Linked DNA regions of Homo sapiens: region 2 is linked to region 1. The links are contacts of gene promoters, found by promoter capture Hi-C in blood cells and fetal thymus (Javierre and others, 2016). All regions are on one chromosome and are shown on one strand. The core of a region is centred on a gene start or on the middle of the fragment in contact, and the rest is flanking DNA. Distances in the headings are between cores, read along the strand shown. Region 1 holds the start of MYH3 (myosin heavy chain 3). Region 2 overlaps DNAH9 (dynein axonemal heavy chain 9).

Region 1 (5,170 bases), core at 929-3,428:
CCAGGCCTGTTTCAGCCTCCACCCTGCCCTCCTTCAGCCGCAGGAGCCCTCAGAGTCAGGGCCCCAGGAACCAGGCTGTCCTCATGCCTTGAGAAGCTCCACCCAAAGGGCTTCAGTGCTGGGAAATCACACGGGTGCATATTTATTGAGGGGCTTCTTGTGCGACAGTCTTACAGCCTATTTAACCCAAGCTCCTCAAGCATCTGAGGCTTGAACTGGCGATAAGGGGTTTGGAAGTGAGCACCACTCTTGGGACCGCCTTTTCCGCTTCTGTGACAACCAGGTGTTGCTGAGGGAACGTTTAAAAATAAACACCCTTAAAAAATAAACGCCATCTTCAAAGAGAGTGTGCTAATGGCAAACAGCAAAGATATTTTTGAACCATTTCAATCAAGGTGGCTACACGCTCGTATGCGGGAACCTGCCTTTTGCTTCCTTGGGTTGCTAAGAACAAAATCAAGCATCTGACATCAGCATCTGTTTGACAGTCCCCCAAATGCCACCTCCTCTCCCGCCTGACCTGTCCTTGCCTTTTTTTTTTGAGATGGAGTCTCACTCTGTCACAGACTGGAGTGCAGTGGCACGATCTCCACTAACTGCAACTTCTGCCTCCCAGGTTCAAGCGATACTCCTGCCTCAGTCTCTTGAGTAGCTGGGATTACAGGCACTTGCCACCACGTCCTGCTAATTTTTCTATTTTTAGTAGAGACGGGGTTTCACCATGTTGGTCAGGCTGGTCTTGAACTCCTGACCTCATGATCTGCCCACCTCGGCCTCTCAAAGTGCTGGGATTACAGGTGTGAGCCATTGCACCCGGCCACGACCTGTCCTTGTCTAAATGTGCTAGTTCCCCTGTCCCTCTGTGCCCTTATGGCCGGTGGGAGGAGGGAGAAAGGAACTGGCAAGCTTGGATTGCCTGGAGATCTCCAACAGCCGAGGGACAGGGCCCAACTTCTCACCTGAGAGTCCCACCTGCAGGATGAGAGCAGAAGACAGCAACAGCCAGGAGATCCCAGACCTGGAAGAATATGCACATACACAACTTAGCGGCACTTGGGGTGGCTGCGTCCATGTAGAATCGGCTTCTGACGAGTTAACTAAAAAGGATAAAGGGGCCAGGCGCCATGGCTCACGCCTGTAATCCCAGCACTTTGGGAAGCCGAGGCGGAAAGATGGCCTGAGGTCAGGAGTTTGAGACCAGTCTGGCCAACATAGTGAAACCCCTTCTCTACTAAAAATAAAAAATAAATTTAAAAAATTGCTGGGCGTGGCGGCAGATGCCTGTGATCCCAGCTACTCTGGAGGCTTAGGCAGGAGAATCATTTGAACCTGGGAGACAGAGGTTGCAGTGAGCCGAGATTGTGCCATTGCACTCCAGCCTGGGCGACAAGAGCAAAATTCTGTCTCAAAAAAAAAAAAAAAAAAAAAAAAGACTAATACTTTAAAGAGGCAGGCTGGAAGATGGAAGAGCAGATGGGACGTGACCCACAGGAAGCCAGGCAGGGAGGAAAAACCCTCAGCTGTGCAGAAATCTGGTTTCTCTCAGCCTGCACTGGCACCTTCTTCAGTCTTCCTCACTCCCATTTAGAATCGGACAGCAGGGACCGCATCCCTGCTTAAAGTCAACAGTTCGAGGGCAGGGGCAGGTCTCCTTGTCTGTGAACAGGCAATATCTCTGAGATTAATTTACACGCAATGCCCACAGCCAGTGTGGTCTTGAGAGGACAAGACACCTGGCAGATGTACAGCCCAGGTGGGGAAGGTGAGGGCAGAGTGAGGTCCCCAGTCCTGTTGACCCTTCATGGGTCACAGAGGCAATGGGAGAAGGTCAAGCCATGGCAGCTGGGCTCACGGGGCATCCAAAAGGATCCTGCCCAAGAGGACACTTGGAGAGGAGGACAGGGGAGAGTGTGTGGAGGAGAGAGAACCTGCAGGGCTCCTGCTTGGGGGAGGTGCTGGAGCCAGAGGGTGCTGGGTGTTTGGGCCCAGGGAACCTCGCTCTCTACACCTTGCTTATCCTAAGAAAACTCAGAAAGGCATGAGGCGCCACCTCAGCAGAGCCAGGCAGGGCCAGGGAACCACGCACGGGGTGTGGATGTGCTCACCGGGTGGGTGTGCTCCAAGCAGCTGAGACCTAGAAGAGGAGCCTGTGACTTACCTCCGCCCACAAGCGAGCCACAGAGGGCTGGCTGCTCCCCGGGGCTTTTATAGGCCATTGGTAACCCCCGCGGCTCATTCCTTCTCTATATTTGGCAAGAGGATGAGTGGCCCCCCCAAGCCGAGAACCAGCTTCTTCCACACGTATCTTTGTCGTTGCCAAGGGAAAGGTATAATTAGAAATGAGCAGGATCCATCACCATTTTCCGACCGCAGAATGTCAGGAGCTTGGGATGCCTTTCTCTGAACTTGGGGCCGGTGCTCCCTCCCCTGATGGGATGGGATGGCCTCACTCCAGGAGGAGTTGCGGGGGCAGCCACCTCCGTTCTCAGGCGCTCATCACACCCTGAACGCGGCGTGAGCCCCTAGCTATTGGGCACCAAGGACTGAAGTCGGGTGGCTTACTTAGAAATCTCATCATATGGAAAAGTGAATAAGACTGAGAGTGAAAAGTTGAAATCCTTTTTGAATTTTGAGCAAGATTTTATCACAACCTTGGGTTGTGATTGCAAAACCTGTGCCAGGAATAATTAATAATAATAATAATTAATAGCAATAATTCCCCTCCCCCCTTGCCCTCTTCTCCCTTCTCCTCCTTCTACTCCTCTCCTTCTTTCTCTTATTTTCTCCTATGCAACGTTCTGTCTCATTAGTATCATTATTAACTTAATTCTTTCTTAAGCTCTAATAGGACCAGCCAGTTAAGTTAGTGACGTGGATCTATGCTGCCAGCTCGTATTCCCGGCGACAGCTGCCTGAGGACCTGTGGCTATTAAGACAGATTACCAATTAGGAAAGACCAGCTGCTGGCTGGGATGGGGTAGGGGGAACGGTGGTGGCCTGCAGAGAAAGGGCGGACAAGGGGGGGCTGTCTAACAAATGTGGTCATCTCTAAATCAGGAGTGGAAAAATAAAGCCTCAAGAGAAGAGTAAAGTATGTCGGACGCTTTTGCCCATTCTCGTTCTACTTTTTTTTTCTTGACAAATCTTTGGGAGGATGGCTGGGTGGGCACCCTGTGGTTGCTTATTCCAAATAGAACTGTTTGTCCATGTTTCCCATAGAAACCGCCCCTTCCGTACACAGCAGTACCAAGCCCCGAAGTGGAGGCCACTCCATGAGGTCTGCGTGGGACCGGGGAGGCAGGGCTGCGGTCTCAGGGCAAAGGCACGTGTATGAAACATCCTCTGTGCTCTGGCCCTTACACACAGTGCTTCGAGAAGACGCAGAGGAAACAGAAGACGCAGCCTTTACCCTTAAGGGTTTGAATTCTAGATGATGAGTCCTGTGGATGCTACAGACGCATTTACAAAATTGAGGTGATTTCACATTGAAGCAACAAGTTTATGAAGCGCCTGTTCCGTGAATGCCAGGCAAGGCCAGTGGCCGCCAATGGAGTCAGTTGGGCAGGGCTCACTCACCCCTTGCCTGTCCACCAGCCACTGAGCGTTGCCCCCACCCACTGCCCCTCTCCCTCCAGGTGAGACTGACATGTCCATCCTTGGAGCCCCTCCTCATCCAAGGAGAGGGTAACCGTCACTCCTAAAGTGTCCGTCCATGTCGTAAAGGGAGTGGTCCCCTGGGGCTCTGCCCTGTTGGCCCAGTGATGCACTGTCTCCTTGGGAGTATTGGTCAGGACAGCCACGGACAGGTAAATATCACCGAGGGGAGCAGCGGTGTTAACAAGGTCCGTGGGGTCAGGGGACAGGGCAAGCTGTCCTGGCTACATCTCCAGCAGTGGTGTATGCAGGGCAGGCTGTGGGTGTGGCGGGGGTGGACGTGGGAACTTGCAGTTCCTACGTCAACACCCAGACCTGTTGACAGGAGGAACTGTGTGGAAATGAAATAGGGGGCAATTTTGCTTTTTCCCTTTTGCAGTGACCAATGTACTCATCTATCTATATAACTACATCCATACTCACCTCCAGGAGACAGAAAAGAAATATTCCCTTCAACATTTCTTTTAGTTCCCTTAAGAGAGCACCCATATCACGTTAGGACCTAATACAAGCTCTAAAATGCTGATGGCTTCTCGCCTGGCTTTCCACACTGTCCTTGTTTCCTTCCTTCTCTTCATCAGAATTCTTCATCTTCAGCAAACAAATATAAGTGAATCTAGGAGAAAACGTCACAGACTCCTAGAGTGTTCAGCTGTGAGATCTTGGCAGTTTCTTTTAGTCTGGATCATTCCTCCTATCTTACGTATTTATTTTTCAGTAATATAGACATCACTGGACACTTTTTATGTGTCAGGCACAGAACCCAGAACTTCCAGAGTGCTCCACATGGAGATGGCCTGGTCCCTGCCTTCAAAGAGGCATTCGTCTGTAGGGCTGAGAAGAGGAAGACACGTTCCCCCAGATGAACTGTGTGGTACAAGATCAAAGGTGTTGAGTGGACCAGAAAGGCACCCATGCTGATCGCGTTCAAATGAGGGAGAAAGAACACCCTGCTGAACCATCTCTTTGGCTGAACTGTCTCCTTTTCAGATGAGGAAACCGAAGGCAGGAGCCACAGGAAGCTTGCTGGAAGCGGTGAGAAGAGGGCCAGCGTCAGGGATAGAGGTCAGCTCTCCAGGAGAAATCCCGCAGTGGCTGGAAGGGACAGCACCCACGGCAGTCTGGAGAGCAGTTGAAAAGCTGGATATCAGGAATCACAAAGTCTGGTCATTTGGAAACGTATCTTTAGGAGAGGTGAGAACTGCATGTACTTCCACAGCAGCAGGTCGGAGCAGGAGGAGCATGGAGCTGAGAGTCCTACAGGCCTGGATGTGGATCCCGGCTTGCCCGCTTGCACACCACGTGATGGCAGGCAGTGTGCTTCTTTGAGCCTTCGTCTTCTCCTCTGTAAAACGGGGGTGACATACCTGCCTCCCAGACTAGTTATGTGCATTCAGCGGGATATCCCAACATCGCACACACCATGCCTCGTGCTGTGTTTGGTACATTGCAGGTGTTTGCCAGGTGTAAGTTTTCTTCTCTACCTGCAGATTATGGCACAGTGTGACTGGTTTTC
Region 2 (5,508 bases), core at 2,385-4,884, 1.3 Mb after region 1:
GTGAGGATGGCATGAGTAGGTCAAGCACAGAAAAATTTTAGGACACTGAAACAATAATGATGAATATGATACTATAATGGTGGATACTTGTCATATACTATAATGATACAACATGATACTGTATTTGTACAATACTGTAACGGTGGATACATACAATTATACTGCAATGACATATACTAAAATGGTGGATACGTGGCATTAAACTGTAATGATACAATATGATACTGTAATGGTAGATACATGTCATTATAAATTTGTCCAAACACATAGAATGTACAACGCAAAGGGCAAACCCTACGGTAAACTACGGACTCTGAGTGATAATGAGGTGAATGCAGGTGCATCACTTGTAACAAAGGTACCGCTCTGGTGGGGAATGTTGATAGTGGTGGAGGTTGTGCATGTGTCGAGGCAGAAGATATAAGGGTAATCTCTGTACTTGCTGCTCAATTTGCTGTGAAACTAAAACTGCCCTAAAAAAAAAAAAATAAAGTATATTAAGAAAAGGCATAGAGAAAACTTCTCAACAAATTTTATGAAAACAGAATTAACGTGACACCAAATACGTTATGAGCAAATGACAGATCAGCTTTCCTCATAAACACAAATGCAAAATTCCTTAGCAAAATGTTAACAAATCAAATCACACAATATAAGAATAAGATAATATATCATGGCTAAATGCGGTAATCCTAGGAATACAAGATTAGTTTTAAGATTCAAAAATCAGTCAGTGAAGTTTACCATATTAATGTGCTACATTTAAAAATCATATGATCATCTTCATAAATGCAGAGAAGGCGTTTGACAAAATTGAACACCAAATCTTCATTTTAAAATATCAAAAAAAAAACAGAAATCAAAGGAAATGTCAACTTAAAGGATATCCAAAGAAAACATATTTAATTGTGAGGGACTGCCTGCTTTCTCTCTAAGTTTGGGAACAAGGCAAGGTTTTCCATCCTCATCACTTTTGTTCATCATTGCCATGAATGTCCTTCATAACGTGGTAAGGGAAGACATGGCTACACAGATGGGGTCTCATAAAACAAAGTGAATGATCTTCTTTGATCATTTATTTTGTCCTTTGCACTAAATTTCATCTTTATACTTAATGTTATTTTATTAAATAATCAGCTATTTAAAGGGAAACAATTATTACATAAGCTATACATTGCATGTAGCAATGAATTATCACATAACTACAGATATGAGGAAGACCGTATTGTCTCAGAAGCTTGATTTGGGCTCAGAGATATAAGCAGCATATTAAACCCATTTCTCAGAAGCCTGTGTACACTAAAGCAGAGATTCCAAACAAAGGAAACAGTTTTTTTCTATTTTAACCTAATAATGATATTCATTTCAGCAGATCCTTAGGGAAATCTACCAGAAAAAACTTGCTCATCAAATTCGGGTTTGGTTGAAAGTGATAAATGTTGGTGGCACATACAGGGCTCTTTTACATCCCATGGAGCCTTGATGTGGCCTCAGATTCATCACAACACCCTGCTCTGGTCATTCACCTCAAAACATCTGGATAAATACGTGGAATGAAATCTATTTTCTATCCCTGTAATAAAGTCCTGTTACTTGGGGGAAAATGTTTGTAATTCACACTGTACTCATTCAGGCTGGTCCATCTGTTGCTGGTCTGATTAGGGATATTGGTCTTTTCTTTAAAACATTGAGGTTTTTATGTCTTAAAATAGTCCGGCCACCAGACACTACAGTCTAGAAAGTGAATTCGTAATAATTATACTTCATGTAGGAAGTTCATAAAGAAGTTACCAGTTTATTTCTTATAAATCAGGAGCCTCTGGCTGTCACTCAGGAGACTGAAATATGTTCATCTTAAGGTAGGTATGCTTAACTGTTTTTAAGAATTCCAAAAGTGGGCCAGGTGCAGTGGCTCACGCCTGTAATCCCAGCATTTTGGGAGGCCAAGGCGGGTGGATCACCTGAGGTCAGGAATTTGAGACCAGCATGGCCAACATGGTGAAACCCCGTCTCTACTAAAAATACAAAAATTAGTCGGGTGTGGTGGTGGGCGCCTGTAATCCCAGCTACTTGGGAGGCTGAGGCAGGAGAATTCCTTGAGCTCGGGAGGCAGAGGTTGCCGTGAGCTGAGATCGTGCTACTGCACTCCAGCCTGGGTGACAGAGCAAGACTCTGTCTTAAAAAAAAAAAAAAAAAAAAAAAAAAATCCAAAAGTGGCTGGGTGCGGAGGCTCATGCCTGTAATCCCATCAATTCTGGAGATTGAGGTGGGCAGATCACCTGAGGTCAGGGTCAGGAGTTCGAGACCAGCCTGGCCAACATGGTGAAACCCCATCTCTACTAAAAATACAAAATTAGCTGGGCATAGTGACAGATGCCTGTAATCCCAGCTACTCAGGAAGCTGAGGCAGAAGAATCGCTTGAACCCGGGAGGCGGAGGTTGCAGTGAGCAGAGATTGCGCCCCTGCACTCCCGCCTGGGTGACAGAGCAAGACACCGTCTCCAGAAAAAAAAAGAATTCCAAAAGTTAAGAGAAAAAGTTAGATCTAGAATTCCATGTGCCAGTCTCCTGTCCCACAGGCCAGGAGACTCCAGGCCCTACGGAGGTGAGAACATCTTACATTTTAGCAGTCTGCCCTTGATGAGACAGCCAAACGCTGTCAGGTGCCCTAACACCTATTACAGAAACCACAACAATAGAAATGGGGTCTTCAAGAAATTGCCACAGATCATTGGCAGAGCCAAAGTTACAAAGTTTGCTTTAAACATAGTGTTCAGGCCGGGCGCGGTGGCTCATGCCTGTAATCCCAGCACTTTGGGAGGCTGAGGTGGGCTGATCACTTGAGGTCAGGAGTTCAAGACCAGCCAGACCAACATGGTGAAACCCTGTCTCTACTGAAAATACAAAAATTAGCCGGGTGTGGTGGCAGGTGCCTGTAATCCCAGCTACTCAAGAGACTGAGGCAGAAGAATCACTTGAACCTGGGAGGCGGAGGTTGCAGTGAGCAGAGATTGCACCACTGCACTCCAGCCTGGGCAATAGAGTGAGACTCCGTCTCCAAAAATAAAAAAAAATAAAGATGGTGTTCAGTGTAAACCTTTCTTTACAAATCCTATCTAGCTGTTGAAAGAGTGTCCCTTAAAGTTGATTACATATCCAATAGCTCGATTTCTGAAAGAAATCCCTGATTTGGGGGAATATAGATCTTTGTAGGCGCTGGCTTCTTGGGTTTCTAAGCTGCATGCAGGAGAGTCATGGAATTTAAGCTTTAGGCTAAGGTCATGTGGCACTGAACCCACAAGTGGTTTAAGGTCTGCAATGGGAAGCAATTGTGTCTTTTGAAACACTGTGAGTAGAACAGTTGAGACTCTGACATCAGAGCAGGGAGGGTTTTCAAGGACCAGCTTCTGTGAGACAAACCTTCCAAAGCAAGTACTAGACAGGACAGTCATTGTGTCACCTACCCCTGGAGTTTTATGTTCAAATGACATGAACAAGGATGGATAACTCTTGTCTGCCTGGGTGCCATGAGCCAGGGGTCTCTGAGGCCAGGTGTTTTCAGGGACTTCCCACCTTCTCACGCTTTCCCCCTCCCATTCTTTATCTTCAGGGGGAGCTGACTATGACCAGCCACATGGAGAACTTACAGAATGCCCTGTACTTCGATATGGTGCCAGAGTCCTGGGCTAGACGAGCCTACCCTTCCACAGCAGGCCTGGCAGCCTGGTTTCCAGACCTCCTCAACAGAATCAAGGAGCTAGAGGCTTGGACGGGTGACTTTACAATGCCCTCCACTGTGTGGCTGACAGGCTTCTTCAACCCCCAGTCGTTCCTGACTGCCATCATGCAGTCCACGGCTCGCAAGAATGAGTGGCCACTGGACCAGATGGCCCTGCAATGTGACATGACGAAGAAGAACAGAGAAGAGTTTAGGAGTCCTCCTCGGGAAGGGGCCTACATCCATGGCCTCTTCATGGAAGGTGCCTGCTGGGACACACAGGTAAAGCTTGGAATGAACCAAAGGGCAGCTTTCTGGGGGCTGATTAAATACACATTGCTTCCTATGAAGTGTGACTACTAAAAGAGATATTCCTGAATCTTTTTCTCTAGCTAACCTTCTTTCCTTGAGGCCATCAGGCCATTTTTATTTAGCCAGGGGTGGTGCAAAGAGCGTAAGTTTTGCAGAGGCAGTAGAGTGGAGAGGTTAATAGCAAGGGCTTTGGAACCAGACTGGCTGGGTCTGAATCCCAGCACCACCATTTATTAACTCTGTAACTTTAGATATAGTTTCACCTTTCCAGACCTCACCTGTTAGATGGGAGAAGAGCGTCATTGTAAAAGTTAAACGAGCTAATATGTAAGACACTTGAACAGTGCCTGGCACATAGGCAGTTATCAAAAAATGTTGGAGTCAGCTATCTCTGCTGCTGCTGCTGTGTGTCTGTCGCCCAGGCTGGAGTACAGTGGCACGATCTTAGCTCACTGCAACCTCCGCCTCCCGAGTTCAAGCAATTCTCCTGCCTCACCTCCTTGGTCCACTTTCCACATTCATGAGCTCTCAAAGGGCAGGAATCTTCTGCCTTTTATGTTGTCCTATGTTGGCAAAGAGGAGCCAGTAGATATCACTTAAAGTGGCATTTTGAAAGGATTCCTTATCAAAGGCTAATAAAAACGTGAGTCACATGAGATTGGAGAAGATGTTTTGTCACCAATAAGAATATGCAAATAGAGATTTACTTGGTTAAGTAGTGCCCCCAAAAATTCATGTCTAGGCATAACCCCAGAATGATTATTTAGAAATAAGGTCTTTGCAGATGTAATTAGTTATGATGAGGTCATACTGGATTATCATGAACCCTAAATCCAATGACCAGTGCCCTTATAAGAAGACACACAGGTCGGGCACAGTGGCTCACACCTGTAATCCCAGCACTTTGGGAGGCCGAGGCGGGCAGATCACCTGAGGTCAGGAGTTTGAGACCAGCCTGACCAACATGGAGAAACCCCATCTCTACTAAAAATACAAAATTAGCCGGGCATGGTGGTGCATGCCTGTTATCCCAGCTACTCGGAATGCTGAAGCAGGAGAATCGCTTGAACCCGGGAGGTGGAGGTTGCAGTGAGCCGAGATCGCACCATTGCATTCCAGCCTGGGCAACAAGAGCAAAACTCCGTCTCAAAAAAAAAAAAAGAAGACAACGACCACATAGATGGGCACAGATATGGGAACAATAGACACTGGATTATTAGAGGGTGTAGGGAGAGGTGGGGGTTAATAAAAACTAACTATCCGGTACTATGCTCACTAACTAGATGAAGGGATCCATACTCCAAACCTCAGCATCATACAATATTCCCATGTAACAAATCTGCATATGTATCCCCTGTATCTAAGAGTTGAAATTTTTTTTAAAAAAAAGAAACTAAAAGGAAAAGAGATGGAAAATTTTGTTGAGACATGTTTTATAATGCTTACCATTCTAGTGGATATAGCAAGTAAAGTCTCAT

The links. The method cuts DNA at HindIII sites, captures the fragments that hold promoters and counts their contacts. A CHiCAGO score of 5 or more calls a contact.
Region 2: a contact is called between a fragment that was not itself captured here and the fragment with the promoter of MYH3 in region 1, in 1 of 17 cell types (endothelial precursors). The highest score is 5.6, in endothelial precursors.

The regions. Positions count from the first base shown.
Region 1 is chr17:10,655,131-10,660,300 of GRCh38, forward strand. MYH3 (myosin heavy chain 3) reads right to left here and starts at 2,179. Exons shown (of 41, transcript NM_002470.4): 1 at 2,159-2,179; 2 at 960-1,018. The HindIII fragment of the contact is 3,770 bases long and covers 905-4,674 here.
Region 2 is chr17:11,958,257-11,963,764 of GRCh38, forward strand. It overlaps DNAH9 (dynein axonemal heavy chain 9), which reads left to right. Exons shown (of 69, transcript NM_001372.4): 68 at 3,611-4,000. LOC124903928 (a long non-coding RNA gene) reads right to left here and starts at 1,958. Exons shown (of 2, transcript XR_007065622.1): 1 at 1,875-1,958; 2 at 1-473. The HindIII fragment of the contact is 740 bases long and covers 3,265-4,004 here.